Regions from separate parts of the Homo sapiens genome. Here regions 1, 2 and 3 are each linked to region 4. The links are contacts of gene promoters, found by promoter capture Hi-C in blood cells and fetal thymus (Javierre and others, 2016). All regions are on one chromosome and are shown on one strand. The core of a region is centred on a gene start or on the middle of the fragment in contact, and the rest is flanking DNA. Distances in the headings are between cores, read along the strand shown. Region 1 overlaps PARP12 (poly(ADP-ribose) polymerase family member 12). Region 2 overlaps KDM7A-DT (KDM7A divergent transcript). Region 3 overlaps KDM7A (lysine demethylase 7A). Region 4 holds the start of HIPK2 (homeodomain interacting protein kinase 2).

Region 1 (4,439 bases), core at 1,315-3,814, 260 kb before region 4:
AAAACACTCAGATCACTGCCAGGCACATAAGATGTGGGTCGAGCGCAGCAGCTCATACCTGTTATCCCAGTGCTTTGGGAGGCTGAAGTGGGAGGATTGCTAGAGGCTGGGAATACACAACTAGCCTGGGCAACATAAAGAGACCTTGTCTCTACAAAAATTTTTAAAAAAATTAGCTGAGCATGGTGGCGCGTGCCTGTAGTCCCAGCTACTCAGGAAGCTGCAGAGGGAGCACCATTTGAGCCCAGGAGTTTGATGCTGCAGTGAGCTATGATTGTGTCACTACACTCCAGTCTGGGTGACAGAGCTAGATCTTGTCTCTATTAAAAAAAAAAAAAAGAAAAAGATGCACTGTATGTATTGCTGATATAATATTTTTAATCCTAGAGGTTAGAAATTCGTATTGTTTTAGGCAGTCAGTATTTGTTTAAGCTTACACAATTACCATTTTGTTTCTTACTCACCATTCCTTTGCTCACACTTCTCCTTGTTTATCATTTTCTTTCTTTAAGTTCCTCTGTTGGAGGTTGCTTTAATGAGAGTCTGGAGGTAATTGTGTATTTTGTTAGTCTGAAAGGGTTTTTATTCCCTTCTCATTCTTGAAAGATAGTTTTACTGGGTATTTTCCCTCAGTTCTTCAAAGACTATTTCATTGTTGTCTGGATTCCATTGCTTCTACTTAGAAGTTAGCTATCAGCCTAAATCGAGGTGGTATTAGTTCACTTCTTAGGGCTGCTGTAACAAATTACCATGAACTTGATGGCTTCAAACAACAGAAATTTATTTTCTCGGTTCTGGAGGCTAGAAGTCCAAACTGAAGGTGTTAGCAGGGCCTTGCTCTGTCTGAAGGCTTTACAGGAGGATCCTTTCTTGCCTCCTCCAGGATTCTGATGCTTAGAAATCCTTGGCATGCCTTGGCTTGTAGACGCGTCACTCCAATCTCAGCCTCCATTGTCACAGGCATTTCCCCATGTGTCTGTGTTCAAATTTCCCTCGTCTTAAAAGGACATCAGTTTTGGATTAGGGCCCACCCGAATCCAATATGACCTCATCTTAACTTGATTATATCTGCAAAGACCCTATTTCCAAATAAGATCGCATTCATGGGTACCAGGGATTAGACCTTCAGCATATCTTCTTGGGGACACAATTCAATCCAGTATAATAGATAGTCTGTTTTTTTCTCTCTGGCTGTTTTTAATATCTTGTCATTCTTTGGTGCTGTGCAGTTTCACTAAAATCTGTGTGTGGATTTAAAAAAATTTATGCTACTCATATTTTGCTGTGCTTTCTGATTTCCTCAGCCATGATCTCCTTAAGTATTCCTTCTCTGGAATTCTCATTAGATATATGGTGAAGTCTTCTCACTTTATCTTTTATGTCTTCTAACTTCTCTTTTATTCTCTTTCTAAACTCTGCCACATTTCTTCCTCTCAGGCTCTCAGTTCATTAGTTCAGACTCTTCTGAGATGCAGTGTGTCCCATCGAAGTATGATTTTTAAATTTCAGTTAATTTAATTATGTTTAAAAGTTCTAAGGTCGGGAGCAGTGGCTCACGCGTGTAATCCCAGCACTTTGGGAGGCTGAGGAGGGCGGATGGCTTGAGGCCAGGAGTTCAAGACCAGCCTGGCCAACATGGTGAAACTCTGTCTGCACAAAAAAATACAAAAATTAGCTGGGCGTGGTGGTGCATGCCTGTAATCCCAGCTACTCCTCGGGAGGGTGAGACAGGAGAATCGCTTGAATCCGGGAGGCGGAGATCACGATGAGCTGAGATGATGCCACTGCACTCCAGCCTGGGTGACAGGGTGAGACTCTGTCTCAAAAAATAAAAAATTAAAAAAAAGTAGTAAAAAAGGAAAAGAAAAAAAGTTTTGGAGGGAGTGGAGGAGAAAGAAAAGAATAATGAATAGTAAAAGTTCTGTTTTTTTCCTTAAATTTACCCAGTCAGTTTTTATAGTCTCTTGATTCTTACTCATACTTTTGATGCTCAATTCCTTTTTAAAAAACATATCACGTATATCTGCATCTGAGAATACTAATGTTTATAGTTCAGGGTGGTCTGATTTTGTTTTTGTTAACTTTTGCTCATAGTGTCTTTGTTTCCACATTTTGTGATCGATTTTGAGCTCATGTTTGATTTGATGGAAATTTCTTTGGAAATTCTTTTTTTTTGAGATGGAGTCTCACTCTGTCGCCCAAGTTGGAGCGCAGTGGTGCGGTCTCAGCTCACTGCAAGCTCCGCCTCCTGGGTTCATGCCATTCTCCTGCCTCAGCCTCCTGAGTAGCTGGGACTACAGGTGCCCGCCACCACTCCCGGCTAGTTTTTGTATTTTTAGTAGAGACGGGGTTTCACTGTGTTAGCCAGGATGGTCTCGATCTCCTGACCTCATGATCCACCTGCCTTGGCCTCCCAAAGTGCTGGGATTACAGGCGTGAGCCACCATGCCCGGCCAAGAAATTCTTTTGAGGCCTGAGTTGAAGGTGAATTTCTCCAGAGGGGATGTGTGTTTGCTTCTCTGAGAACTGCTACCCTGGGTGGTCTTTGCAGCTAATTCTCCCAAAATGTGAATCAGTCTAAAACTTCTGTGAGGCTTGAGTGGTTTATGAGTTCTCAGAGGAATTTTTTCCTCCTTTATCCAGAACCAACATTAATACAGGCAGGTTTCCTTGCCAGATGTCTTTGCAAGGCAAGTCCCCTCTCCAGTCCCCCTTTACTAAGGTGGGTCATCTTTTAGGGTCCTGGTTTTACGCAGAGGTATCTCTTTTGAGATTCAGCCTCCTGCCGTACTCAGACCCTACATTTGTTTCCTGCTTCCCTTTTGCGGCCAAAGCCCAGGCTCTCTGTCGTTACTCATCGATACTGCCCTGGGATAGCTGCTGGCTCTCGCCCTCCTCTCCGCTCTCCAGTTTCGTACCTTCCTTTGGTCTTTAGGCAGTACTGCGTTTAGAAAGGGAGCGTGTCCTGGTGGCTCAGGTGCAGGCTGTGCAGCCCACCTGCCCACCTGAAAGCCCAGCTCGCCCGCTGACTAGCTGTTTGACCTTGAACAGGTTTCTTCACCTTCCTGAGCTTCTGTTTTCCCGTCTGTGAAGTGGAGATAATAGTCTCAACCTCATAGGGTTGTGAAAATGTCATCGCCTAATACATATAAAGTGCTTAATGCAGGGTCTGGCTCACACAGTAAACACTCAGTATATGTTAACTATTGTTATTTTTGGCTTCTGAGGACTTCCCTTTCTTGCCAGCTCAGCAGTGAATTTTAAAAAAGAATGATTTCACCAGCATCTTCGGCATTTTGTACTGAGAGGAATTTTCGTCATAACTAGTCTCCCACATTATCTTGATTTTGATATTTTTATACCTCAAAACTGATCTGAAAAAGCAGTTTCCTCTACCTCTGGGAACTTTTTCTAAAATGTGCATGCCACATTTACTATTCGCATCTCCCAGCTATATGTTCTCAAGCTGAGGGACCTGTGTCTGCTTGGCTGGTGGGATTTTCAGTCTGCTGCTGTTTTTCTTCTGTAGGATCCTGTGCTCTGAGTCAGCCAGTACCTTTCACTCTCATTGTCTGAACTTTAACGCCATGACTTACGGTGCTACCCAGGCTCGCCGCCTCTCCACGGCCTCCTCTGTCACCAAACCTCCACACTTCATCCTCACCACTGACTGGATTTGGTACTGGAGTGATGAGTTTGGTTCTTGGCAGGAATATGGAAGACAGGTAAGTGTGATGGAAAGAGGGTGAATGTTTTGTCCTGAGGATCTGTAAGAGAGGAGCCAAATAAGAGCCCCCATATTGTTGCCAGGGGCATCCTTGAGAGAGCTGAGGATCCCCAGGTGCCAGTGTGGCTCACTTGCTTTGGGAGAATTATGGCAAAACTAGATAAGTTGGAATTTATTTGTATGAGCTTTCATCTTTGAAGAGCTTCCATCTGTTGGCTCATGAGAACTGAATGACAAATTTGTAGTGAGATCAAGTTTCTTCATTGGTTTTATTAAATGGGATAGAAAGATGTTTCTCTTGTTGAACAGGTAACTTAACCCCACAGCTGGTGCCTATGTGTGCAAGTGTGTTTGTGTAGCTGTGATATAGAGGTAAAGGCTTTTCAAACTGGTTGTCTGCCATTTCTGCAACTTTACAGAAGGTAGGCAAATATAAGAAAATTGATTTATATCATGTATAGGTTTGGAATCCAAGCCAAATAACAAAAAATAGTTGCTGTCAATTCTTCGCAGGTGTTTGTGGATGGGTCAGATTAAAGGGAGTCCCCTGGTCACTTATAGAAATACAAGTTTAGGCCGGGCGTGGTGGCTCATGCCTACAATCCCAGCACTTTGGGAGGCCGAGGTGGGCAGATCAGTTGAGGTCAGGAGTTCAAGACCAGCCTGGCCAACATGGTGAAACCCCATCTCTACTAAAAATACAAAAATTGGC
Region 2 (4,731 bases), core at 1,563-4,062, 400 kb before region 4:
CATGCCAAAGAAAATTAGTGTTTCCCTAATTTCACCTAACATCCAGATTATATTAAAATTTCAAAATTATCCCTCAAACTGTCTTTTATAGCTGATATTTTAGAATCAGGATCCATCAAGCTTCATGAATTGTATTATTTAGTTATGTTTCTTAAGACTTTGATCTAGAAAAATGTTCCTCCCTCTTGCCCTCTCTCTTTCTTCCTTGTTTTTGTTTTGTTTTGTTTTGTTTTGTTTTGTTTTTCTGAGACAGGGTCTTGCTCTGTTGCCCAGGCTGGAGTGCAGTGGCACGTGATCTTGGCTCACTGCAACCTCCTCCTCCTGGGTTCAAGTGACTCTCCTGCCTCAGCCTCCCGAGTTGCTGGGACTACAGGCATGCACCACCACACCTGGCTAATTTTTGTATTTTTAGTAGAGACTGGGTTTCAACATGTTAGCCAGGCTGGTCTCCATCTCCTGACCTTGTGATCCACCTGCCTTGGCCTCCCAAAGTGCTGGGATTACAGGCGTGAGCCACCACGCTGGCCATCTCATTCCAGCTTTGACTTCCCAGGCTTGATCCGCCTGCCTCTGCCTCCTGAGTAGCTGGGACGACAGGTGCGTGCCACCACGCCTGGCTAATTTTTATTTTTTGTAGAGATGGGGTTTCGCCATGTTGCCCAGGTTACACTCTTTGTTTTAAAAATGGCAACTTTTAAAATAAACTAAGCTAGTGGTTTTGTGAAATGTTTCATATTTTGGATTAGTCTTATTTCCTTGTGGTATCATACAACTTGTTGCTGCTCTATCTCCTGAATTTCCTGTCAGCTGGAAATTAAGTCTTAAGGTTTAATTATATTCAGGTTAAACATTTTTGGCAAGGATACTTCCTAAGTGATACTATGTACTTTATACTGTATCCTTTGTAATGCCTGGCTACATTGTGATTCACTGTCCTTACTAATGTCATTTATCTGCTTTGCTTTCCTTTATACTTTTTCACCACTTTTATTAACATTTGCGCTTTGAATGTGTTCAACATGACAGTCCTCCTTTAATAACATCTTAACCTCGGGCTGTCAGTTTAGAATTTTCCCAGCTCCTGGGGTAGAAGCAAAGATAATCAGGCTGTGAACAAAGCTGCTGAGCTCTGTGTGTTGGGTCCTGCTTCCCCGACTAGACTCCACTCTTCTTCCTCCCAGCACCATGATATACTCTTTCAAGACCTACTCTCCATAGGCAATCTTTTCCACTCAGACATTATCCTTTTCCCTCCAGCTCAGTAAAATTAAAATTTCTCTGTCCTCCTACCACAACTTTAGCCAGGCTAGTTAATTTGTGTAGTTAATCCCTGTTTCGTTAATCTGATGAACAGGTTACAGGGAGGATCAAGTGCTATGTAAGAACAAATCACTCTCATTTAATGCATGTCAATGGTTTAACGTAGCATTCCCAAGATATATTCCCAAAATATGTTTGTTTTCTTTCTTTCTTTCTTTCTTTCTTTTTTTTTTTTTTTTTGAGACGGATTCTCGCTCTGTCGCCCAGGCTGGAGTGCAATGGCACGATCTCGGCTCACTGCAACCACTGCTTCCCAGGTTCAGGTGATTCTTCTGCCTCAGACTCCTGAGTAACTGGGATTGCAGGCACCTGCCATCGTGCCCGGCTAATTTTTGTATTTTTTTAGAGATGAGGTTTCACCATGTTGGCCAGGCTGGTCTGGAACTCCTGACCTCAGGTGATCCGTTCACCTTGGCCTCCCAAAATGCTGGGATTAAGGCGTGAGCCACTGTGCCTGGCCAGTACGTTTGTTTTCTAAGGAAGAGAATAGCAGACGTGGTTGTGGAGATAGAGCAGTATCATTAGTAGTAGGAAGGAGAATTGTTAGTTTGGAGCAAACATTCCTTGTCAGAGAAATGAGGTTAAATGAACAAGTGAAGTGTTAAAAACAAACACAACACCCTAGATTTGATGTGAAAATTAAGAGAGATCTGCGAGTATTGGAGAAACCACAAAGGAGAAAGGGAGAGGGAGTCCCACGGTCATTGTCAACTGATGCTGGCATGGAGCTGGGTGTCTTTCTTCAAGATATTTTTCCTTTTGAAATTCTATCCCCCGCTTGTTTTTGAGACAATATTCTCCTAGTCTTCTGTCCTAACTCTTCAGCTGCTCTTCATAATAGAGCTGTCCTCTCTATTATTATTAATGAACAAGTAGCAAAATAATTATTCATAATTGCAGTTAGTAGCTATATGGCTTATCATATGCTAAGAATTGTGCAAAGTATGTTATTTTAGTGTACCCAGCCCTGGGAAGCAGATATGCTTACCATTCCCATTAAAATGAGAAAACTAAAATCCAAGTGTTAATAAGTTGTCACAGAGGTAGTAGGTTGTGAATCCAAAACCATGAGCTTAATTATGATGTATGGGGCTTGCCACTAAAACGTTGGCATCATCCAGAGTTCTAGCCTTAATCCCTTTCTTCCCAAGATCAAATCTTTGTGTTTACAATTTCTCTAACCTTTCCTTACAGATTTGTATGCCTTACAGTGTCTTTATTCTTTACTGATCTCTTCATGTACTTTTAAAAATAGCTGCATTTCCAAACTGGAGATTAATTAAATAGACTGAGCAGAAATGCACAGAAGTGATGCTAGTATTCTCACCAAATCCTATCAGATGGCACGTGATCTTGATTTGTCCCATTATTGATGGCACTTGATCATTTGATTAAGATGGTGTCTGCCAAGCTCCTTAACACTGAAAAGTTACTCTAGTTCCCTTTGTAATTAGTAAGAATTTTGTTGGGAGATACTTTGAAACTATGAAACTATTCCACTGCTTATCAAACTTTCAATTTATGTATTTCTTTACACTGGTATAGCTTCCTATATTATTCAGTGGGTTATAATACATGATTTTTTTTAAATGTTGAAGTACAATTTGTCCCTGATTTGGCTGGTGTCCTTTAGACATGCCTCATTATTCTTTGAGCACGTCCTTATATTCTGGTACTACAAGAAGTTCCAGGCTCATCCCGTACCCTCTTCTCCAGTCCTGGAATCAACTATTTTGCCAAGAAGAAAAATGAAGTGGAGAATGGTATTTAGAAGCCAAGACCTGGGCTAGCTGTTCTCATTGTTTTGTGGTGTCACTACTCCCAGATCCTCTCAATGGACAGGGTATGTACATATACACCTATATCTATTTCTACAAATAGTGATAGATTGATACCTCCATTACTAGCCCACCACCAAAGTTTCCTCTTATTTGTAATTCTCTTCCTGAACATTGAGAAACCTGGCTCCCATTTTCCTTAACTCATTGCCAGTCACGTGTCGCATAATGACATTTCCGTCAATGATGGACTGCATATTATGATGGTGCCCCATAATATTATGATGTGATATTTTTACTCTCCCTTTTCTATATTTAGAAACACAATTTCTTACCATTGTGTTCTAAATCCCTATGGAATTCAGCACAGTAACATGCTATACAGGTGTATAGCCTAGGAGTGATGGGCTACATCATCTAGCCTAGGTGTGTAGTTAGCTATACCAAACACGGTTGTAAGTACACTCTATGGTGTTCACACAACGATGAAATTGCCTAACGATGCATTTCTCAGACTTACCTCTGTTGTTAAGCAACACGACTGTATTTTTTTTTTTTTTTTTTTTTTGAGATGGAGTCTTGCTCTGTAGCCCAGGCTGGAGTGCAGTGGCGCGATCTTGGCTCACTGCAATCTCTGCCTCCCGGGTTTGAGCGATTCTCCTGCTTCAGCCTCCCGAGTAGCTGGGAATACAGGTGCGTGCCACCACAACCAGCTAATTTTTTGTATTTTTAGAAGGGACAGGGTTTCACCATGTTAGCCAGGATGGTCTCAATCTCCTGACTTCATGATCCACCCGCCTGGGCCTCCCAAAGTGCTGGGATTACAGGCATGAGCCACCACGTCTGGCCAACACGACTGCGTTTGATCAGTTCTCTTGTACACAACTGTATCAGTTTGTTCTTTCGTTGCTATAAAGAAATATCTGGGCTGGGTGCGGTGGCTCACACCTGTAATCTCAACACTTTGGGAGGCTGAGGCAGGTGGATCACCTGAGGTCAGGAAATCGAGACCAGCCTGGCCACTACTAAAAATGCAAAAATTTGCTGGCTGTGGTGGTGCACGTCTGTAATCCCAGATACTTGGGAGGCTGAGGCAAAAGAATTCCTTGAACCCAGAGGGCGGAGGTTGCAGTGAGCCAAGATCATGCCACTATACTCCAGCCTGGGCAACAAAGTGAGACTGTGTCTCAAAAAAAAAAAAAAAAAAAAAAGAAAAATAAATAAAAATAAATAAATAAATAAATAAATAAATAAATATCTGAGGCATACAACTGTAATCCCAGCACTTTGGGAGGCTGAGGCAGGTGGATCACCTGAGGTCAGGAGTTCAAGACCAGCCTGAGTAACATGGTGAAACCCTTCTGTACTACAATTACAAAAATTAGCCGGGCATGGTGGCAGGTACCTGTAACCCCAGCTACTCAGGAGGCTGAGGCCTAAGAATTGCTTGAACCCGGGAGGTGGAGGTTGCAGTGAGCTGAGATCGCACCACTGCACTCCAGCCTGAGCGACAGACCCAGACTTCATCTCAAAAAAAAAAAAGAGAAAAATATCTGAGACTGTGTAATTTGTAAAGGAAAGAAGTTTAATTGGCTCATGGAAGGCAGGCTGTACAGGAAGCATGATGCTGGCA
Region 3 (4,397 bases), core at 881-3,380, 340 kb before region 4:
CAGTGTATTTGGGTTCCAGTTTCTCCACACCCTCACCAGTGCTGTAATTGCCTTCTATTCTATTCTAGTGGGTGTGATGTGTCATGATTTGGATTTGCATTTCCTTAATGAGTAATGATGCTGAGCATTTTTCTTGTTGGGCATTTGCATATTTTCTTTGGAGAAATGTCTATTCAAACCCTTTGCTCATTTTAACATTGGGTTGTCCTTTTTAATTGTTGAGTTTGTAAGCATTCTTTATTCTCTGTACTAGACCCATATCAGTATGTATGATTTGCAAATAATTTGCTCCCATTTTGTGGGTTATCTGCTCACTTTCTTGATAATATCCTTTGATGCACAAAAGTTTTTAATTTTGATAGTCTTAACTATGGTCAGCTCTCCATTGCTGTTAAAAACCAAGCCTGTAAGAATCTGGGCTGCTGTCCCAGGACAGTTAGGACAGCATAGGGTGTGTCTTGAGAGACCCTCAAAGAAAGGACTGAGTATCAGCCTTAGCTGTAGCCTCAAGTATAGGTATCAGGCCTCTCATTTTGAGATGTAAATGAATGTAGAGTATAGACTGTCCAGACCAGTGGTTTCGAGAACTGTGTGCTGGTTTTGGTGACCCTAATGACTGTAAAGTTCACAGGGATCTGTCCCTGCAGGTCCTGCTGAAAGCCTTGCCTCTGGTGTATATAATAACAAATGTATGTTGAATAAATGAAGACATGCCTTAGAACTACCAGAATATTTGCCTAGATTAGTAACAGTATTTTCATTGTGAATGGGCTCATTCACATTGTGAATGCCCCTCCCTTAAATCTTCCTACTTCTTGCTTTTATGTTAGGTATTTCTAATATAATCATAAATTGACATTTATGATTCTTCAAATCATAAATTGACATTCATAGAATAATTTTTTAAATTGATTTAATGTCCTAACTAGAATATAAAGAAGAAATAAAAAGGTAATTTATAATGAAATGCTATTTCAGTATGTGCCTGTCTAGGCACAGCAGCATTAGAGAACAGAATGAAATAGTAATTGCATAAGGAAGGAAATCAATCTAGGTGTGTGTCAGTGGCAACACAAATTCTATCAGTAGCACTGGTGTAGGTACTGATACTTCCTGGAATATCAGAATCACATGGAGGGCTGGTTACAACACAGATTGCTGGACGTCATGGCCAAGGTTCGGATTCTGTGGATCTGGAGTGGGCCTGAGAATGTGCATTTCTAACAAGTTATTGGCTGATTCAGGTGCTGCTGGTATGGGGACCATATTTGGAGAACCACTGCTGTAGGCAATGTAATTCTTTTCCCAAGGTTGTTAGTGACTGATAAGCTTCCAAACTACAGTACAGTTTTTGTGTTTCAGGAAATTGTGCCAAAACCATGAAAATATACTGTGTGTGGGTGTCTGTATATACAGATATATATAATAATATATAATAATGGAGTTCTAATTTCTAGGCTCAGATAGTTAATAGGACAGGCTTTGTACCTATATGAATGCGCAGGAAAATTTGGCAGTCCCGAGTGATGCAGGACAATTTCATTTTGTATGGAACTGTCTCACATATTGTACTCCTGGCTCCCACTCACAAAATGCCAGTAGTGCTCCCAGATCATTGTGACAATCAGAAAAGCCCCTAAACGTTCCAAAACATCCTGAACAGGCAGTACTGCCGCTATTGAGAACCACTGATGTGTAGGATTTGGAGTTGGCACAGACTGCTAATTTGTGGTTTCAAGGTCAAGCTCAAGGCTTTGTGCCTTTGAGCACAGCAATGGGCACACTTGAAAGTGAGTCCTTTGAGGGTTTTTTGTTTTGTGTTACAGTTCAGTGAGGGGTCAAAAGATGAAAAATACAAAGAAAACGGGATTTGTGTATTTTAAAAGCTAATTTGCATACAAATATGTGTTTGTATTTATTTCTGGTGAAGTCTTGAAGTCTGCCAACATTTTTTTCAAAAGTTAGACGTCATGTCTTAGAAATGGTTTTCACTTTGTAAGCATTTGTATGGGAATACAAAATATCATTTTTTGGCAACACCTATATTTGTAGGACCATAACCCTTCATAATTAAATGTGAGTAATCTACCTTTTCCTTCTACAGAGTCAGGTCTCAGGTTGACTCCTCTGATCCTCCTCTGCTTAGTCCTTTCGGGGCACTGATTTCAGGATGACACCAGGGCGATGGAGTGTCCCATCAATCCCAGTGTGTTCTCTAATGGAAAATGTGCTTTTCTAATTCAAACCAGATTTGGCTGGTCTCAAAGAGTAAAATCTTTAATATAAAGTTGGGTTGTGTTTTTAAGCTAAAAAACAAAAACAGGCTGGGCACAGTGGCTCACGCCTTAATTTCAGCACTTTGGGAGGCCAATGTGAGAGGATGACTTTGAGGCCAGGAGTTTGAGATCAGCCTGGGCAACAAAGTGAGACCCCATCTCTATTTTTAAAAAGAAAAAAACAAATACAGTAACAACTACAAAAACCGTCACCTTATTTCTCAAACTCAGCATAGAGCCTACCATATAATAGGCATTTAATAAATAATTAAATCTATAGATTGTAATAAACATTAACTTCTCTAGCACTGAAATATGAAGTAAACTGATATTGATATTTTGAGTTACTTCACAGGTAGATATCCTATTGGTTTAGTTTACATATTGAAAAATGACTGGTTTATATATTTTCAACCATTTTAGGGTGGATCCATGCTGTGCTCACTTCTCAGGACTGTATGGCTTTTGGGGGGAACTTCCTGCACAACCTTAACATTGGCATGCAGCTCAGGTTTGTGTCATCAGTATTTAAATGACCTTTTGTCCTTTTTAAAAATAGGATACTTTTTTTTTTAACTTAAAAAAAATCAATAGCTTATTTTATTTGAGATTCCATGGAAATAGTCCCTGAGATATTATTAGGGATAGAAGCTTTTAACAAAAGTAGTATTTTAAAATTTTGCCAGGAGGATAATTTGCATTTCAAATCTAAAACAACAACAACAAAAGGGAACTTATTCAGATAATATTCCAAATTTCAAAATTTTGTGAAAATGTATGTGTTCTTCTTTGGCTATTTTTGCAGTGAGGGAGATGAACAAAATCTAGTCAGACTCAGATGTGACATATGGTGCTAGAAAAAAGCAACCGTAAGTCAGGACTGCTATCAAAACACCTGCTTTAATTTTGCTGCAGGTAAAGGATTAATAGCTGTTTCTCCTCTATATGAGAATTTGACCTTTGCGTAACTCTCTTCTCCTAGTAGTCTAATGAGTGTTGACTTTTACTAGGTAACATTGCTTATGGTAAAAATGATTCCTGATTGATAAACTGCATCAGGACTGGGAGAACTAGAAATACCTAGTAAGAAGCCATATCTCTGGACTTGCCTGAATGTGGTAACTCTTGTAACTTGGCACACTCATAGAGATCCCTAGAAGCTATGCATCTGTGTGTGGCGTTATTAGGGGAGATAGTGGCTTTTACAGGGCATAAGGCTTTAAGCAGCCTTAAACAGCTCCCACACCTACCAAGTGTGGATCTTGTCTTTTTGTACCTGAGCTGTCCCTGAGGGAGGGATGGCTCCTGTTTAATTCTTGCCAAGTGTGGTCTTGAGCTGGAATGCCTAGTGGAGCCTAAATAAAACTTTTTTGGGTGGGTATTGCACTGTTGTCTAACACATAGAGGTGTTTTCTGAAACACACAGTTTTATTTATTGTAGTAGAACCCTCGTAAAAATGTCTTTTGTTAAAACCAGGATACAAATCCCAAAGTGTGATCCTGATCTTCTGTGAAGTCCAATACAATTCTTAAGTATACCATCAAATTCCTTAAAGTCAGAACCTGGATAAGATCACAATTCAGTCTTGTCCAAATGTGATGTTGCTAAGAAATGTAAAATACTTTATTGGTCTTACATATCATGACCTGGTTATTTTATTTTCCAGTTGGTTACTTTCATCTAACTTTGAAATTCTAATATTAATATTAAAAATTTCTTCAAACTCATTTAGGTGTTATGAGATGGAGAAAAGGCTAAAAACACCAGATCTTTTCAAATTCCCTTTCTTTGAAGCCATATGTTGGTTTGTAGCCAAAAACTTGCTGGAAACCCTGAAAGGTAATTAATAATTTGCATGTTTGTATATGATATGATGCATATTGTTTGTAAATTCACTCATAGCCACCTGACAGAAAGAGTCCCTTTTCTAGTAGTGTATGGATGTCACTCCTATTTTGTTTTTTAAATAAGTGGTTTTCCCCCATCCAGCAACCTTTTTAGCAAGTTAGAGTCTTTAGTCCATAACCTGACAATCCATGTTCTTAAAAATTTGTTATGAAAGACCTGGATCAGAACAACGTAGGTAATATTAGAAATGTTCATTCCATCTAGTCCTCTAG
Region 4 (4,376 bases), core at 1,877-4,376:
GAAGAGAAGGTGGACCTCTGTCTGTATGGCTCCATCTTGTTCCCCTTCCATGGGACTCTATTTCCTTGCCCAAGATTGTTCCCTTCTTATGGGGAGGAGACTACCTGTAAAATGTTTTCGGTTGACACAAGTGATATTCATTTTAAGACTGCCTAGAATCACTCACTGCTAGACAGCAGCTGGGATGGACTTAGAGGCAGTTACTGAACACTGGTCAGTGCTGAATTCAGGGGCAGTCCTATAAAGCAGGGCCTTGCTCCAAGACGCTGCCAATCCAGTTATGAACACAGGGTACCTACACAGAAGACAAGAGTCAGCCATCTAGGGTGCGGGTATGCTGTGGACAACAGAGTGTGAGCAACAGGCAGGAAATGTTCTGTGAGCCTAAGGAAAGATGAGACAAAAGTCAGTGGGGCTGGTCAGAGGGAGGAGTTAGAATAATAATAACTTTTATTGAACCCCTACTATGTGTCTGCCCTCTATATAAAACTCTCTCTCTAATCTAACCCAGCCTCAGAGGCTGTGATGAGGACTATATGAAATGCCTTTTATCGAGTTTGTAGTGTTGTGCTGGACACAAGGGAGCATGCAACAAATTGCAGCTATCATCCATTCAACAAATATGTGTGCAGTACTCACCATGCGTTAGGCAATGCAGTTATTGGACATACAATCCAAAACAAGAAAAACATGGTTTCTGTCCTTACTGAGCTTACAGTCTAGAGACACCTTGTCCAAAATGGTAGCCACTAACCACCCATGGTTATTAAAATTAAAAATTCAGTTCCTCAGTCATACTAGCCACATTTCATGTGCTCCACAGACATAAGTAGCTACACTGCCATTATGGCAGCAAGTTCTAATGGCCAGCACTAGAAAGGGGCAGAGAGACATGCATGTAGGGTATGTATTAACAGGGAGTTACATACCTGTGTGGTGAAGGCTATGATAGAGATTTACAGATGCAAAAGGAGAACATTACTATTGTTCTCCTTCTCATAATCAAAATACAGACACTGAGGCTCAGAGAGGTTAAGCATTTTGACCAAGATCACATAGTTAAGTGGAAGAGCTAGGATTTGAACCTAGGTCTGACTTACTCCCACGCTATCTCGGGCTGTTTTGTGGAGGAGGTGAGCCAGGCACAGGTAGAATCTGCTTAAAGAGAGAAGATGGAGAAGGTACCCCTCTGGGAAAGTGGGTGGGAAAGTGACCGCTTGGGCAAAGGCACAGTGACAGAGATGGGTGAAGCTGGCACTGGGCTACAAGTAAACCAGTTTGGCTAGAGAAGCAGTGACTTGCTGAACTCATGTCCTTAGAAAGCTAAGTCAGGACTCGCCTGCCTTGATGAAAAGCCAAGGCACTCAGCCCCACCTGCAGAGGTTGAGTCCTTAGAGGATGTTAGCCAGGAGCGTGGCATGGCCAGAACCACGTATTATGAAGATGGCAATATTTAGGATGACCTGGGCCAAGACTAAAGTTAAAGATTGCAGGGAGGATAGAAGGGAAGGAGATAAATGACCGGTGTGGAGCAAAAAACACTAGAGTGGGAGCCACGAGACCTATTCCTAAGCTTCAATACTGTGTGACATTGGGCAACAGATTTTACTTCTCTGGACTCCATTTCTTCAACTCTAAAAGGGCAGGGCTGGCCCAGATGACCTCTGAGGTCCTTTTAGCAACAGTAGTCTAGGATTCTGCAAACGTGAATGGCATTAGGTTAAGAGAAGGGATAGGAAGTGTAGCATTGATTATGGGGGCAAGGAAGACCGCAGAGTACAAGATCACACAGAGGAAGGTGTCGTGATGTACCACTAAAAAAGTGTGAAAGAGCTTGCCTTTTTTGGGAAGGACTGAAGGATGGGAACGGAGGATGGAGACCGGAAAGGATAAGAAGTAGTGAGAAAATCACGAGGTTGTTTTTAAGAAAGTTATACAGTGTTAGAGATCATTATTTTACACAGATAGCTTTTCAACTTTTTTAAACCCACGATTCACAGACGGAAATAAAATTGACATCATGGTCCAGTACACTTGTCCAGTACCTATAATCGAAACAAAAGGTTTATGAAACAATAGTTGCCCTTACTAAGGGCAATGGACTCTAATATTTTCTATTGGATTCCATTTCGTTCTTTTTGAAAGCTGGTTGCCTTCCGCTGCATTTATTTTATGATCTATTACTGTGTCACGACCCACAGTTTTAAAAACAGTGCCTAAGAGGAGACTCAACAAGTCTTCCTAAGTTGGAGGGGATGGCAGGGCATCCTATCCAAGCATCCGGGAGGCAGCTGGAGAAGCAAACCTGGAGAGGCTCCCGGCTGGGGAGAGTCTGGAGAGTGTTTAGCGGAAGCCCTGATAGGAGAGAGCGCTGAGAAAAGCGAGGACCCAGAGAGTTGTGAGCTCCCATTCAAGTGATGGAGTGGCGGCCCTCGGGACAGTGTAGACGCGAGGAGGAGAAGATCAGGGTGGCGTGGAAGCCAGACTCCGGCAGGAACCCAGCGACCACCCCGGGGGCTGCATTTCCGCGGCGTGCACGGCAGGGCTTCGGTGCCTCTGACCTCGTGTGGCTTTCCGAAGCTCCTCCACTCACCCGCCCTCCTCCGGAGCACGGCGCGCGCCCACTCCTTCATTCATTCATTCCACTCCTACCTCCGCGAGCGCCAACCGGCTGTGAGATGGGCGAGCCACTTTGCCAGCGTGGGGCTCTCTTTCGGGTCGGTTCCCTCCCCGCCAGCACACGCGCGAACCCTCGCACCTGGGCACACACGCGCGCGCGTGCACACACACACACAAAGTTCTGGGGGCCCCTCTGCAGACCGGCTCGGCTGCGCTGGGCTCGGAGCCGTGCGCCCGCCGGGTCCAGGCCGGCCCTCTCACCCACTACCCGGGGCCCGCCCTGCGCCCAGTCCCCCCGCGCTGCGCGGCAGCCCCTCCCAGCGCGGTCCCCTCGGGCCGCCGGCGCGGCTCTGCCCTTCGGTTCGGCCTTCCCCGCCTCGCATCCGTGCCATCGGCGCTCGATTGCGCGCGGACTCCCTGTGGCTCTCCCGGCCCCGCGCCCCGCCCCCGCCCCCGCCCGCCGCCCCCCTCCGCCAGCAACTTTTGCGGAGCCCCCGCGCCCAGCCATGCTGAGCTGAGCCCCGCCGGCCCTGGCCGCGCGCTGCCCCCGGCTCCCGCCCCTCCGCGGATCCGCTCGGGGGCCGCGGCCGCTCGGCGCCTCGGCCTCGGCCGCTCCGCCCGCCCGGCCGCCCCGAGCCCCGAGCCCCGAGCCCCCCGCGCCGGGCCCGGGCGGCAGCGGCGGCGGCGGCGGCGGCGGCGCGCCCGGCCCCCTCCCCCGGCGCCGGCCACGGGAGGCGGTGATGCGGGCGCGGGCGGCCTCGGCTGCGCCGAGAGCGGAGACACAGGCTCAAGATGGCAGATTCCGACTGAGGCTGGGGGGGCCGAGCTCGCGCGCCGCTTTCCCGTCCCCGTTGCCATGAACCGCGGACACCCCGGCCCCGATGGCCCCCGTGTACGAAGGTAAGGGGCGCCCGGCCCCGCCGACCCCGCGCCCGCCGCCCTCCGCGGCCCCCGCAGCTTTGTTCTGCCCGCGGCCCCGCGCCCGCAGCCCCCGGCGCCTGCCCCAGCCCCCACCCGGGGCCCGAGGGGGCCGCGACCCCCTCCCTCGCCCGGAAGATGACCGGGACCCGGCGCCGGCAGGGTCTTGCTTCCAGGGCGGGGAGAGGGGCCGGGGGCGCAGGAGGGGAGGGGGCGTGTGCGAGGGTGGGCGGCTGCCCGGGGAGGGCAGGGACGCCGGGGAAGGCGGACCGGTGACTGTGCTTTTTATTTATTTGCGATAAATGAAGGTGATGCGGCTTAGCTTCCACCGCCCCCCCACATTACCTTTCGGAGCACCTCCTTTCCACTTCGCTCTCCGCCCCGCGCCCCTTCCCATTTCTTTCCGCGCCCACCCCACGCTCCTTTATTCTCCGCGAGCCTCCGATTTTGGGGGGGCTGTGGAATCGGAATGCACGGGGCTAGGTGGGGAGAGAGGAGAGAGATGAAAAGTCCATGTCAGAGCCAGGCAGAACAATGAAATAGGCGAAAATCTCCCCTCATTAGCGTGTGGAAGGGGACGTGGACTTTGGGTTTTCCAGCCGGGGGAGCGGCGGAGACGTTTTTCTGGCTCGGTCTGGGTCGATCTGTGTTGTGCACCTTCACCTGGCATCGGGGTATTTTTCCCCATTTGACTGCCTTTAGCAAGAAAGAAAAGAACGCAAGGCAGAAAAGCAGTAGGTCTGCCTCGCACACTGTCTTTCGTTTCTCTTCAGTCCGTTCTGTCAGCTTCCAGCCAGAAAGCAACCCAGAATCAACTAAGTTTTTACACTTCGATGTGT

The links. The method cuts DNA at HindIII sites, captures the fragments that hold promoters and counts their contacts. A CHiCAGO score of 5 or more calls a contact.
Region 1: a fragment that was not itself captured here is called in contact with the fragment with the promoter of HIPK2 in region 4 in 1 of 17 cell types (total B cells); the score reaches 5.2 in total B cells.
Region 2: a fragment that was not itself captured here is called in contact with the fragment with the promoter of HIPK2 in region 4 in 1 of 17 cell types (neutrophils); the score reaches 5.3 in neutrophils.
Region 3: a contact is called between a fragment that was not itself captured here and the fragment with the promoter of HIPK2 in region 4, in 1 of 17 cell types (monocytes). The highest score is 5.4, in monocytes.

What each region holds. Positions count from the first base shown.
Region 1 is chr7:140,040,930-140,045,368 of GRCh38, reverse strand. It overlaps PARP12 (poly(ADP-ribose) polymerase family member 12), which reads left to right. Exons shown (of 12, transcript NM_022750.4): 6 at 3,530-3,725. Among named protein-coding and RNA genes, the nearest start is that of PARP12, 20 kb to the left of the region's middle. The HindIII fragment of the contact is 4,259 bases long and covers 435-4,439 here.
Region 2 is chr7:140,179,572-140,184,302 of GRCh38, reverse strand. It overlaps KDM7A-DT (KDM7A divergent transcript), which reads right to left. Exons shown (of 1, transcript NR_024451.1): 1 at 4,663-4,731. Among named protein-coding and RNA genes, the nearest start is that of KDM7A-DT, 4.7 kb to the right of the region's middle. The HindIII fragment of the contact is 5,380 bases long and covers 123-4,731 here.
Region 3 is chr7:140,118,832-140,123,228 of GRCh38, reverse strand. KDM7A (lysine demethylase 7A) reads left to right here. Exons shown (of 20, transcript NM_030647.2): 8 at 2,700-2,787; 9 at 4,010-4,116. Among named protein-coding and RNA genes, the nearest start is that of KDM7A, 56 kb to the left of the region's middle. The HindIII fragment of the contact is 1,598 bases long and covers 1,332-2,929 here.
Region 4 is chr7:139,776,748-139,781,123 of GRCh38, reverse strand. HIPK2 (homeodomain interacting protein kinase 2) reads left to right here and starts at 3,126. Exons shown (of 15, transcript NM_022740.5): 1 at 3,126-3,519. The coding sequence starts at 3,501. It also overlaps a transcript of TBXAS1 not described here. RefSeq lists silencers at 2,781-3,010, 3,441-3,530. The HindIII fragment of the contact is 7,054 bases long and covers 1,576-4,376 here.